2 separate regions of the Homo sapiens genome follow, and region 2 is linked to region 1. Evidence: promoter capture Hi-C in human tissues and cell types (Jung and others, 2019). All regions are on one chromosome and are shown on one strand. Each heading gives the region's core, a stretch centred on a gene start or on the middle of the fragment in contact. The rest is flanking DNA. Distances are from core to core; before and after follow the strand shown.

Region 1 (6,101 bases), core at 24-2,523:
AATTATGTTATCAACTCAATTGTTGCATAAACATTTGATAGTGTTCATAAAAAATTATTGATAAAATATCTTTATAAACCTGGTTTAAAAAGATTAACTTGATAAGAGGTGCAACCTGTTGTAAACAGCTTACTGAGGAACTTTGGTAATCATTACCGACCAAGACAAGAATGCTTAATTTCTTTCCGACTTATAGTTGAGGAAGCCCTAAACAAACAATAAGAAAAAGAAATGACTCTGGGTGTGGTGGCTTACACCTGTACCCCTAGCACTCTGGGAGGCTGAGGTGAGAGGATAGCTTGAGCTCAGGAGTTTGAGACCAGCTTCAGCAACATAGTGCGATCCCATCTCTACAAAAAAATAAAGAAAATAGCTGGGTGGGGTGGTACGCGACTGTATTCTCAGCTACTTGGGGGGCTGAGATGGGACCATCACTTGAGCTGGGGAAGTCAAGGCTGCAGTGAGCCATGGTCGCGCCACTGCACTCCAGTCTAGGCGATAGAATGAGACATTGCCTCACATAAAGAAATGAGTTATACACATTAAAACAATGAAAATATGCAGAGAAAATATTTATATTTGATGGTTCAAATAATAAACTGACAGCTATCAGAATTCAGCAAGTTTCCAGGAAAAAGGTTCTATTTAAATAATTATCAATGGCTTCCCTCTACAGGAGAAGTTATCAATACAACAATGAAAGGGAAAACTAAAAGGCCCAAAAGGACTGAGTGAGTGTCAAGGAGAGTCTGTTTCCTATTAGAGCTGCAAATATATGTGTCCTGTGTACAGGACTGTAGCAACGTGGAGGATAGGTAGAAACCCGATCGATGAGCATCCTGTATCCGTGGTAGCTGAGAACCTGGATGGGAAGCCCTAGCCTTAGCCCCATCCCTAGGCCTTGTCACTTAAGCCCCGCCCAGCCCTCGTCTCCGCCCCCTAGGAATTTCTACCAAGCCCCGCTCCCAATCTGGTTCCACCTTTAGCCCCGCCCCTTGGAGTATTTAAAAGGCCACGCCCCTAGGTCTAGCCCCAGTTCCGCCCCTCAGGCCGAGTCATGCAAGTCCAGTTCAGGGTTCTGTTTCTTCTCTGTTTACTCCAAATCATGAAGAAACTAGGATTTCTCATCCACTTGCGGCTGGAACCAGCCTTGGCGCTCCTTTGCATCCCGCTCCTACCTGCTCCACCCCCTTCACCTCAAGTCCCGCTTCCCAGGCCCCGCCCCATACGCCATTTGCAGCGCCGAAAGAGGAATCAGAAGTGTGCTTCTGCGCATGCGCGAGTCGACAGCCTTGTCACCCTACGCCTCCGCCCGCGTCTGAGGAACATTTTTGCCTCCGCCCGCTTCCTGTCCTGCCCTGCCCCGCCCCGCCCTGCCTGCCCCGGGTCGGGTCCGCGGGAGACCGAGGGCTGGGTTTGGGAATCGGCGGTCTAAGGGCTGCCTCCCCGCCACTCCTTGTCCGGACCCCGCGCCCGGGGCCTCCCGCCGCCGCGGCGCCTCCTCAGAGAGCCCGGGTCAGCTGCCCCTGTGGCCGCGGCTGGTCCCAAACTCACTGAATCGGGAACTCTGGTCTGGGTACAGAAATCGGGGTGATTCTGATGCAGGCGAGAGTTGGAGAACCAATGTCGTAGTTCATCAGCCTCCGAAAGCATCCTTTGCTCTCTTTCCAGAAAGGAAGAGCATCTCTGCCATTCGTGTCTCAAGGACAAGCGCTTCAGCCTCGTTCTCTGTGAGCTGATCTGTGGATCGCGGCGTGTCGGGTGAGCACGGGGTGACATTTGCCTCGGCTCGGTCCCCTCCTGTCCCCTCTTTATGCATTAGGTAGTGTTTGGGCCAAGCGCGGTGGTTCACGCCTGTAATCCCAGCACTTTGGGCGGCCGAGGCGGGCGGATCGCTTGAGCCCAGGAGTTTGAGGCCAGCCTGGGCAACATAGCAAGATCCCGTCTCTACCAAAAAAAAAAAAAAAAAAAAAAGTAAAATAAAAGGTGCTCTCCTGTGTTCCCAGCTACTCGGGAGGCAGAGGTTGCAGTGAGCTGAGATCGCATCACTGCACTCCAGCCTGGGCAACAGAGCGAGACACTGTCTCAAAAAAACAAAAAGATAGTATTTGGTCTCTGGATATTATATTCTGCCTGTGGACATCAGTTTGATACATTATATTCAAGTGAAAGTGAACTGATGCATTTTGTCATTAATGATGCATTTGAATCATTTGTCTATAGATTGGTTAAATTTCACACAGAAAATTTGGTCATCTGTCAGTTTCAATCTTTTCCCTTTTTATTCCTTGCAGTTTCCATTTCTTTTCATTTCTTTACTGCACTTGCCAGGACCTCCAGTACAATGTCCGACAGAATAGCATGTAATTTACATCCTGTCTTGTTTCTGATTCCAGAGGGAATTATTCTATCATTTCACCATTAAATAGGATGTTTGCTGTAGGTGTTTGTAGGTTTTTTTCCTTTCTTTATTCCTATTTCTTTTTAGAAAATAGGAGTCTCGCTCTGTTGCCCGGGCAGGTCTCGAACTCATGGGCTCTCCGCCTCCCAAAGTGCTGGAATTACAGGCATGAGCCACTGCACCCGGCCTGACCGTGTTTTAAACCGCTGATTTTTTTTTCTTTAATTACTGGGTGTAATCAGGTTTTAGATCACTGCTTGAAAGTTGTACTACTTTCTAGAAATTCATTAATTACCTGTGCATCTTCATATTTATTCCTTAAATTTTTTCTATATTCTCCTTATGATATCTGTAATTATGATTAATTCTTGTTCATTTTTTTTTTGTTGTTGTTGTTTATGCCCTGTTGCTCTTAAAATTGCTGAGTCTGTTGCTGGCTGCAGTGGCGCATATCTGTAGTCCCAGCTGGTGGGAAGCTAAGGCAGATGGATCGCTTGAGCCTAGGAAATGAGATCAACCTGGGAACATAAAGAGTCTGTCTTAAACAATAAATTAAATTAAAAAATTTTTTTAAAAAGCTGAGTTTGTCAGTTTCATTAGTTTTTCTTTTTGCAAAGGATGCTTTTTTAGCTTTTCTGATTTTGTTTACTATGTTTTAAAAAAGATTATTTTCTATTTTCTTTCTAAACTTTTATGCTGGTCTTTATTCAACTTTATATATCAATAGTCTAGCCTATTAATACCGATTTTTTTTTTTTTTTTTGAGACAGAGTCTCGCTGTGTCTCCCAGGCTGGAGTGCAGTGGCGTGATCTTGGCTCACTGCAACCTCTGCCTCCTGGGTTCAAACAATTCTCTGCCTCAGCCTCCCAAGTAGTGGCGATTACAGGCACCTGCCACCATGCCCAGCTAATTTTTTTGTATTTTTAGTAGAGGTGGGTTTCACCATCTTGGCCAGGCTGGTCTTGAACTCCTGACCTTGTGATCCACCCACCTTGGCCTCCCAAAGTGCTGGGATTACAGGTGTGAGCCACCGTGCCTGGCCAGTACTGATTTTTTTTCCTCTAGGAGTTGATAATGCTTATAAATATATAATAGATATACTAAACCCTCTGAAATTCCAGCATGATCTGAAATAGTTATTTTAATTTTCTGCTTCTACCCTGCCACATTACCTGTCCTGACTTGCTAAAGATAAATATGTTACGTGTCTCCTTATCCCTATAATGTGCTACATTTTTTATATAGCATGTATCTCTACCTGATGTATTTTGTTTAATGTCTTACCCAAAATATTATAACATTCATTTGCTTCAGGATTTTTCTTTTTTATTTTTCTATGCCTTATTCCTTGTGACTTCATGTAGTAGGGTCAGGATAAATGTCACCTAAATAAACATGAAACGAAGGAGGTAAGGGCTATAAGGGAAGCATCGTTGCCCAAGACATAGGCCTTAGGAAAAGGAGCTCAAAGATAACATATTTGATTATTTATTTATTTTATTTATTTTGAGACAGAGTCTGGCTCTGTTGCCCAGGCTGGAGTGCAGTGGTGTGATTTCGGCTTACTGCAACCTCTGCCTCCTGAGTTCACACAATTCTCCTGCCTCAGCCTCCTGAGTAGCTGGGACTACAGCTGTGCGCCACCATGCCCGGCTGATTTTTGTAGTTTTAGTAGAGACAGGGTTTCGCCATTTTGGCCAGGCTGGTCTTGAACTCCTGACCTCATGTGATTCCCCCGACCTTGGTCTCCCAAAGTGCTGGGATTACAAGCATGAGCTACCACGCACAGCATATTTGATTAGAATGCTTCATTTGTCCACTCTCTGTAGTGCCCAATAGGGTTCTAGGCTAAATCCTGGTAAAACTAGGGAATAAGGGGCTTAAAAACAATTAAAATTTAAGGTATGTGTTCAAAAATGTACTCACTGGGTGTTTGGGTTTTGAAGACAAATAGGCCTGCATTCATACCCTGCCTCAGCAGCTGTCTAATTGGGTAATATTGAAGATGTGGTTAATTGACTCATTCTAAGATAATTCTAAACTGGTTGTAATAATATTTGATTTGCAGAGCTTCTGTGAGAAATATTCTAAAATGTGGCCATTTCTTTGCAAAGTCATTCTCACATCAGGGTTGTCCAGATGGCATATATTGTTACTAATACAGCAAAGAATGTTACAGTTTTTTATTGGCTTTTTAAAATGCTACTTGTTCCACTGCAGTGGAAGTAACTGTTAACATGTCGTTGTTTGAAATTTGTGAAACAGCACTGCAGATACCACATCAGGGCTGACACAGGTCAAGTGTTTTTTTTTTTTTGAGATGGAGTCTCGCTCTGTCTCCCAGGCTGGAGTACAGTGGCGCAATCTCGGCTTGCTGCAACCTCCGCCTCCCGGGTTCAAGCGATTCTCCTGCCTCAGCCTCCTGAGTAGCTGGGATTACAGGCTTGCGCCACCACGCCTGGCTAATTTTTGTATTTTTAGTAAAGGAGGGGTTTCACCATATTGGTTAGGCTGGTTTGGAACTCCTGACCTCGTGATCCATCCACCTCGGCCTCCCAAAGTGCTGGGATTACAGGCGTGAGCCACCATGCTTGGCCAAGTATTCTTATTCTGCTACTACTGTACTGTGCAGGCAGATTTAGCATGTGTATCACAGCATAGCGGCCTTCTCTGCCTCCAGCATATGGAATTCAATAGGCTGATGCTTGGCCAGGCGCGGTGGCTCACGCCTGTAATCCCAGCACTTTGGGAGGCCGAGGCAGGCGGATCATGAAGTCAGGAGATTGACACCATCCTGGCTAACACGGTGAAACACCGTCCCTACTAAAAACACAGAAAAATTAGCCAGGCATGGTGGTGTGCACCTGTAATCCCAGCTACTGGGGAGGCTGAGGCAGGAGAATGGCATGAACCCGGGAGGTGGAGGTTGCAGTGAGCTGAGATCACACCACTGCACTCCAGCCTGGGTGACAGAGCAAGACTCCATCTCAAAAAAAAAAAATAGGCTGATGCTCTTTCTCAGGTTTTGGGGAACCCTGCAGCTCATGGGGGCAGGGGCAGTGGTCTAGGGCTGAGCAGCAAAGCCTGTTAGCCAGCCAAGGGGTGCAGAAGTAAGAAATATCGGGAGTGGAACTCCCAGAAGCCTGGCATATAAATCAGTGCTTTCTTGAATTTGAGATGGGGAGTGTTTATTCATGTTTTGGAAGATACTCCCTGATACATTTTATACTTTTTGTTATCATGGGCAGATTGACAGCCAGACTTTTCTAGTCTTCAGTTAACTTACAAAATAGCACTCTTAACCTCTTCTTTATGATCAACAAGGACCAGAGCACTGTTTTGTATCTCTAGGGGGACGTAAGGTTGTTCCACTTTCCCACAAGAGCAGGGTATATTTACTTGGGTGTCTTGGGTGTGTGCATGTGTGTGTGTGTGTGTGTGTATGTGTTTTGAGGGGAGTTGTTACTTATAATTGATGGGCTGCAACATCCAGGCTCATGAGTGTGGGAATTTTGGGGAGGTCTGGATTCTCATGTCACCTTTTTTAATTCTAACTTCTCAATATCCTGCTTTTCTTCATGAAGGCGACATGGAGGAAGAAAGAAAAACTGCTGAGTTACAGAAAAATAGAATACAGGTAAGTAAAAGGTGATAATTGTCCAAAAGAATATTTCCATTGTACCAGGTCTCCCTCAGTGT
Region 2 (6,042 bases), core at 2,538-5,037, 68 kb after region 1:
GCAACGGGAAGTCGCCGAAGCGAAAAAAAAATATATATATACACACTCACCAGACTATGAAGGATTCACCAGCAACAGTCTGGGCTCCAGAGTCAGCCACCAGTCCGTGCACAGACAAGGAGAGGTCTCCTGAAGCTTTGGCGCAGTCTGGGACCCTAACTCTTTTTGTAATGAGTTGTTTGGCATGAGGCCCAGTCACGAGGGCCCTTCACGACTGGGCCCAAGGAACGCAAAAAGGTCAACTCGTTTTCGTGATTGTCTATTGTTTTTCAATAACTAATGTATAGGAATAGATTGAAATAGAGATTTCTCCGAAACAGCGCTGGATGAACGCCTCAAGGGGCTCACACGACCCATTCGAGGACTTGCTGACCATTGTTTGTGTCCATGTTCAATTGAGTTCGAATTTAATATTTAACTTTTCCTCCACACATGGTTATACAAATATCTGTTCAAATCCCTGTTTTCGATCCTTTTAAGTATGCACCCAGAAGTGAACTTGCAGCATCCTATGGTAGTTCTATTTTTCATTTTATGAGGAACCATCATATGGATTTTCATACTGCTGCACCATTTTACATTTCCATAGCCCTGTGTAAGCATTCCTCCTTCCCTACAGTTTCACCAAAACTCGACAGGTTTTTTTGCTTGTTTGTTCTTAATAGCCATCCTATTGGGTGGTATCTCATTGTGATTTTTATTTGCATGCCCCTATTGATGAGTGATGCTGGGTATCATTTTGTATGCTCATTGGCCATTTGCATATGTTCTTTAGAGAAATGTCTATTCAAGTCCTCTGCCCAATTTTTTTTTTTCTTTATTGAGACGGAGTCTTGCTCTGTCACCCAGGCTGGAATGCAGTGGCATGATCTTGGCTCACTGCAAACTTCACCACCCGGGTTCAAGCGATTCTCGTGACTCAGCCTCCTGAGTAGCTGGGACTATAGGTGCAGGCCACCCGCCCGCTAATTTTTTTTGTATTTTTTTGTATTTTTACTAGAAACGGAGTTTCACCATGTTGGCCAGGCTGGTCTTGAACTCCTGACCTCAGGTGATCTGCCCGCCTTGGCCTCCCAGAGTGCTGGGATTATAGGTGTAAGCCACCACACCTGGCCTTCTGCCCATTTTTAATGGGCATTTGTTTGGTTGCTGAGTTGTAGGAGTTCTTAATATTGTTTGGTTGTTAGCCTCTAAGCATATATATATGATTTACAGATATATTTTCCTATTCCCTGGGTTAACTTTTGACTCTGATGATAGTATATCCTTTGAGTTACAAAGGTTTTTTAATTTTGATGTAGTCCAAGTTATCTATATATTGTTGTCTGTGCTTTTGGTGACATATTCAAGAAATCACTAAGAAATCCAGTGTCATGAAGGTATTGATCAAATCATTACCAAATCCAATGTCATGAAGGTATTGATCAATGTTTTCTTTAAGAATTTTATAGGTTTGGAATTTAGGTTTAGGCCTTTGATCCATTTTGTGTTAACTTTTGCATATGGTGTAAGGTAAGAACCCACCTTCATTCTTCTGCATTTTGAAATCAAGTTTTTCCTACACCGTTTGTTGAAAAGGCTGTCTTTTTCCCAATGAATGTTCTTGGCACCCATGTGGAAAATCATGTGACCATATAAGTGAGAGTTTCTTTCTGGGCTCTCTTTACTCTTCCATTTTTCTGTATATGTGTCTTTATGTATTATAGTACCACACTGTTTTAATTCCTGGATCTTTGTAGTTTATTTGGAAACCAGGAAATGTGAGACCTTCAACTTTTCTTTTTAATGGATTTATACATTTTTTCAATTTACCTTAGAATTGTACATTGAGTTGGATAATAGTAACAAAACCTGCTAGGCTTTGGAGAGTGGATTCCCAAGGTTTTTCAAATACACTGTCTCATTGGAGCCTTAGTACTCCTGATCAAATAAAGACAGACAGATTTTTTATTTTGCCAGTGAGAATCACAGTCTGGAGAGGCTGTTGAATCCCAACACAGTGGTCACTGATGGGTCTGATACTGGAATTGGGTCTGTGTCCACCAGGCTGTGGGGCCTTTTCCAGAAACCAGGCTCCTGCACAGGGACTGGGGCTGAAGGAGGGACTCTCCCGGGAGGAGGCAGCCTGGTGAGAAGGATGCCAGCAGAAGTCTCAGGCCTCTAAGGCCTCCCCTCCTTCCCTGGTCTCTGCAGCTGAAGTTGCATCAGGAAGCTGTATCTTCTAACTGCTTGAGGCAACTTCTCAGATAAACCCTCTGAGGTGAATCCATAAACTTTTACAACTTGCACTTTCAAAGGATGATGCAAGGAGCAACAATTGCACCAGCTTGAGCCATTTGAGGGTGGTGTGGAATTGGAAACTGTGTCAAAGGCAATGGAACCCTGCCTCTAGCATCAGAAAGCTAAGCCTGTATTCAAAATAGATGCCTGCCAGGTGCAGTGGTTCACACCTACAATCCCAGTGCTTCAGGAAGCCAAGGTGGCCAATCCTGGTTTGAGGCCAGGATTTCAAGACAAGCCTGAGTCACATAGAGAGACCCCCTAACTGGGTGTGATGATGCATGCCTGTAGTCCCAGCTACTTGGGAGACTGAGGAGGATCACTTGAGCCCAGGAGTTCAAGATTTCAGTGAGCCACTGTACTCCAGCCTGCACAATACTGTGAGACACTGGCTCAAAAAAAAAAAAAAAAATGCCAGAGCAACATAAAATTGTAAGCATTCATTACCTTTCTGCCACCATGCATTGGGGAAAGTGGATCCCTCAGCTGATGCTGACCATTGGCAGACAGGATGGTGTGTGTGGAGATGGCGGGAGGGTCTTAGGGATGTGGGATGAACCCTGACACCATCTACTACCCCATCCTTCACTGCAGACCCAGTTCTACCAGTTCTCATCAAAAGGGTGAACTGCATCCCAAACACAGTCCACATTCTGTGGCTTCCATTCCTGAAGACATCTCCAGAAAGTCTCAGAAGAAAATTAAACTATATGAGAGAACAAATCTTTTCTATCGTATAATTATTACATGTTCTACAATCTGGGGTTAGATCATAAAACTGCAATTATGGGAAATAAAGGTCAAATAAAGAAGGAAAGAAAGAAAGACAAGAAGGAAGGAGGGAATGAGAGAAGAAAGAGGAGGGAATGAGGGAAGAAAGAGGAGGGAATGAGGGAAGAAAGAAGAGGAAAGGAAGAAAGTAAAAAAGGAGGGAGGGAGGGAAGAAAAGGAATAATCACAAAGAAGGAAGCAACGTCTCAGTTATTCTAGGCAGTTCATTACTATGAATCATCAGAACAAACAAGCTTACAAATCTACATTCCTAATTTGATGTGAAAAATCACATCACTGTTCTTATGAAATAAAGGATAGCAAAGTTGGAGTGTGGTCTCAACGTCAAGTTGCCAGGTTATAGTTCACCTCTATCTGCTTCTTCCTTTGTGGAACAAGGTGAATGAGAAAAGACATGTCAAAGAAATGTTTTCAGGGCCAACTGTGGTGGCTCATGCCTATAATCCCAGCACTTTGGGAGGCCGAGGCAGGTGGATCACTTGAGGTCAGGAGTTTGAGATCAGCCTGGCCAACATGGCAAAACCCCATCTCTACTAAAAATACAAAAAAAATTAGCCAGGTGTGGTGGTGCACACTTATAATTCCAGCTACTTGGGAGGCTGAGACACAAGAATTGCTTGAACCCGGGAGGTGGTTGCCGTGGGCTGAGATAGCGCCATGGCACTCCAGCCTGGGTGACAGAGTGAAACTGTGTCTCAAAACAAAACAAAACAAAAACAAAAAGAAAGAAATGTTTTCAGGATTAAATAAAGCCATACATGTAAAGCAACAAGCACAATCCTAAAAGGGAAACACGTTGCCTTGACTATTGTATGATTTTCATCCAATTTCTTCCAGAGGAAACAAGAACACAACCAAGTTTAGGTGAAGGGTGCTAACATGCAAATGGGTAATTTTTGAGGAAAGCATGTCATCATATCAGCACTCGATATGATAAGTGTTTCAAACAACACGTGAGAACTCTCAAGAGTGGCTCTAAGAAAATGGACCAAAGATGGAACTTTAAAGACTGTATATAAAACGGAAAAGTTAGAAGGAAATTACCAAGGGAGTTACTGAGAGAACCTAAAGTAAAAACATGTAGCAAAAGCCAAATCACAAGTGTTTTGGGAAGAGTAAAAATGAAGCATGTGATTTTCAGGAGAAAAAGAGCCAGGATATTTATTTCTTGTTTTCTTTTAGTTTTGTAGTTGTTGTTTTTGAGACAAAGTCTCACTCTGTCGCCCAGGCTGGAATGCAATGGCGCAATCTCAGCTCACTGCAACCTCTACCTCCCAGATTCAAGCAATTCTCCTGCCTCAGTCTCCCAAGTAGCTGAGATTACAGGCACCCACCACCACACCCAGCTAATTTTGCATTTTTAGCAGAGATGGGGTTTCACCACATTGGCCAGGCTGGTCTTGAACTCGTGACCTCAAGTGATCCACCCACCTCAGCCCCCAAAGTGCTGGGATTACAAGCATGAGCCACCAAGCCTGGTCGAGCCGGGATATTTAAATTCACATTTGCCTAATGGACCTACAACATCCACTTAGTTCTGAGACCTTGATCTGTCATGGACAAGAGGCTGGTCTGCTGAGGAACTGAATGTTCATGAGCAGGGCTCTGTCAAACATAATCTTGCCTTTGTGACCTTTTTATAAACCCAATGATCTCTCTGACAACCACCACTTAGACAGATTGAACCCTAGGCTAACACATTCTGCTGCCAAGTGGATGTTATTAATAAGGTGTTTCACAGCACAACAAACTAAACCCTTCCAAGAACAAACTCGATGCAAAGGAAAGTAGATTGAACCCTACTTTCTGCCATGTACAAAAATCAAATCAAATAAAAAACAGATCAACAGGCCTGGCGCAATGGCTCATGCCTGTAATCCCAGCATTTGGGTGGCCGAGGCGGGTGGATCACTTGAGGTCAGGAGTTCAAGACCGGCCTGACTAACATGTGAAACCCCATCTCCATCAAAAATACAAAAATTAGCCAGGCGTGGTGGCGGGCACCTGTAATCCCAGCTACCTGGGAGGCTGAGGCAGGAGAATCACTTGAACCCGGGAGGCAGAGGTTGCAGAGAGCCGAGATCACACCTCTGCACTCCAGCCTGGGTGACAGAGAGAGACTGTGTCTCAAAATAAATAAATAAATAAAAAGTCAATAGCTTAAATATAATGTAGCTAAAATCATAAAACTCTTAGAAAAAAACATACAGGAATATCTTGATTACACTTTATTTGGAAGCAGATTGTTAGATACAACAGTGAAAGCATGAGTAACAAAACAAAAAAATAGATATATTGAACTTCATCAAATTTTAAAACTTTTCTCTATCAAAATGTTCTGTTAAGAAAATGGAGCATGGTACCAATAGAAACACAGATACAAAGGACAATGGAACAGAAGAGGTGGTGCAGAAATGAATCAATGAATTTATGGCAAATCATTTTTTGACAAAGATGCCGAGAACACACAGTGGGGAAAGGACAGTCTCTTCCATAAATGGTGCTGGGAAAACTGGAAAACCACATGCAGAGGAATGAAATTAGCTCCTCATCTCAGGTCTCAGTAAACCTGAAAATGCAAAACCACTAAAAGAAAACATAGGAATAATCCTCCATGAAATTACACTGGGCAATGATTTTTTGGATAAGAACCCAAAACACAAGCAACAAAGGCAAAAACAGAAAAATGAGATTGCATCAGGCTAAAAAGTTCCCACACAGCAAAAGAAACAATCTATAGAGTGAAGAGACATCCTATGGAATGGGAGAATACAATTGCAAAATTAAAGAGGGGGCCTGGTGTGGTGGCTCAGGCCTGTAAACCCAGCACTTTGGAGAGGCCAAGGCAGGAGGATCACTTGAGCCCAGGAGTTTGAGACCAGACTGGGCCACCTAGGGAGACCCCATCTCGACTAAATTTTAAAAAAGAAAAAACGACCTATTCAAGAGGGAATATTCAGGCCAGGCACA

The links. The method cuts DNA at HindIII sites, captures the fragments that hold promoters and counts their contacts. A contact is called where the count stands out against the background at its distance.
Region 2: a contact is called between a fragment that was not itself captured here and the fragment with the promoter of ZNF699 in region 1, in 3 of the 25 tissues and cell types used here (mesendoderm cells, pancreas and thymus).

Annotation. Positions count from the first base shown.
Region 1 is chr19:9,305,010-9,311,110 of GRCh38, reverse strand. ZNF699 (zinc finger protein 699) reads left to right here and starts at 1,273. Exons shown (of 6, transcript NM_198535.3): 1 at 1,273-1,761; 2 at 5,987-6,039. The coding sequence starts at 5,992. RefSeq lists an enhancer at 1,174-1,293 and a silencer at 1,354-1,603. The HindIII fragment of the contact is 17,114 bases long and covers 1-6,101 here.
Region 2 is chr19:9,239,995-9,246,036 of GRCh38, reverse strand. It overlaps a transcript of OR7E24 not described here. Among named protein-coding and RNA genes, the nearest start is that of OR7E24, 7.9 kb to the left of the region's middle. The HindIII fragment of the contact is 9,125 bases long and covers 1-6,042 here.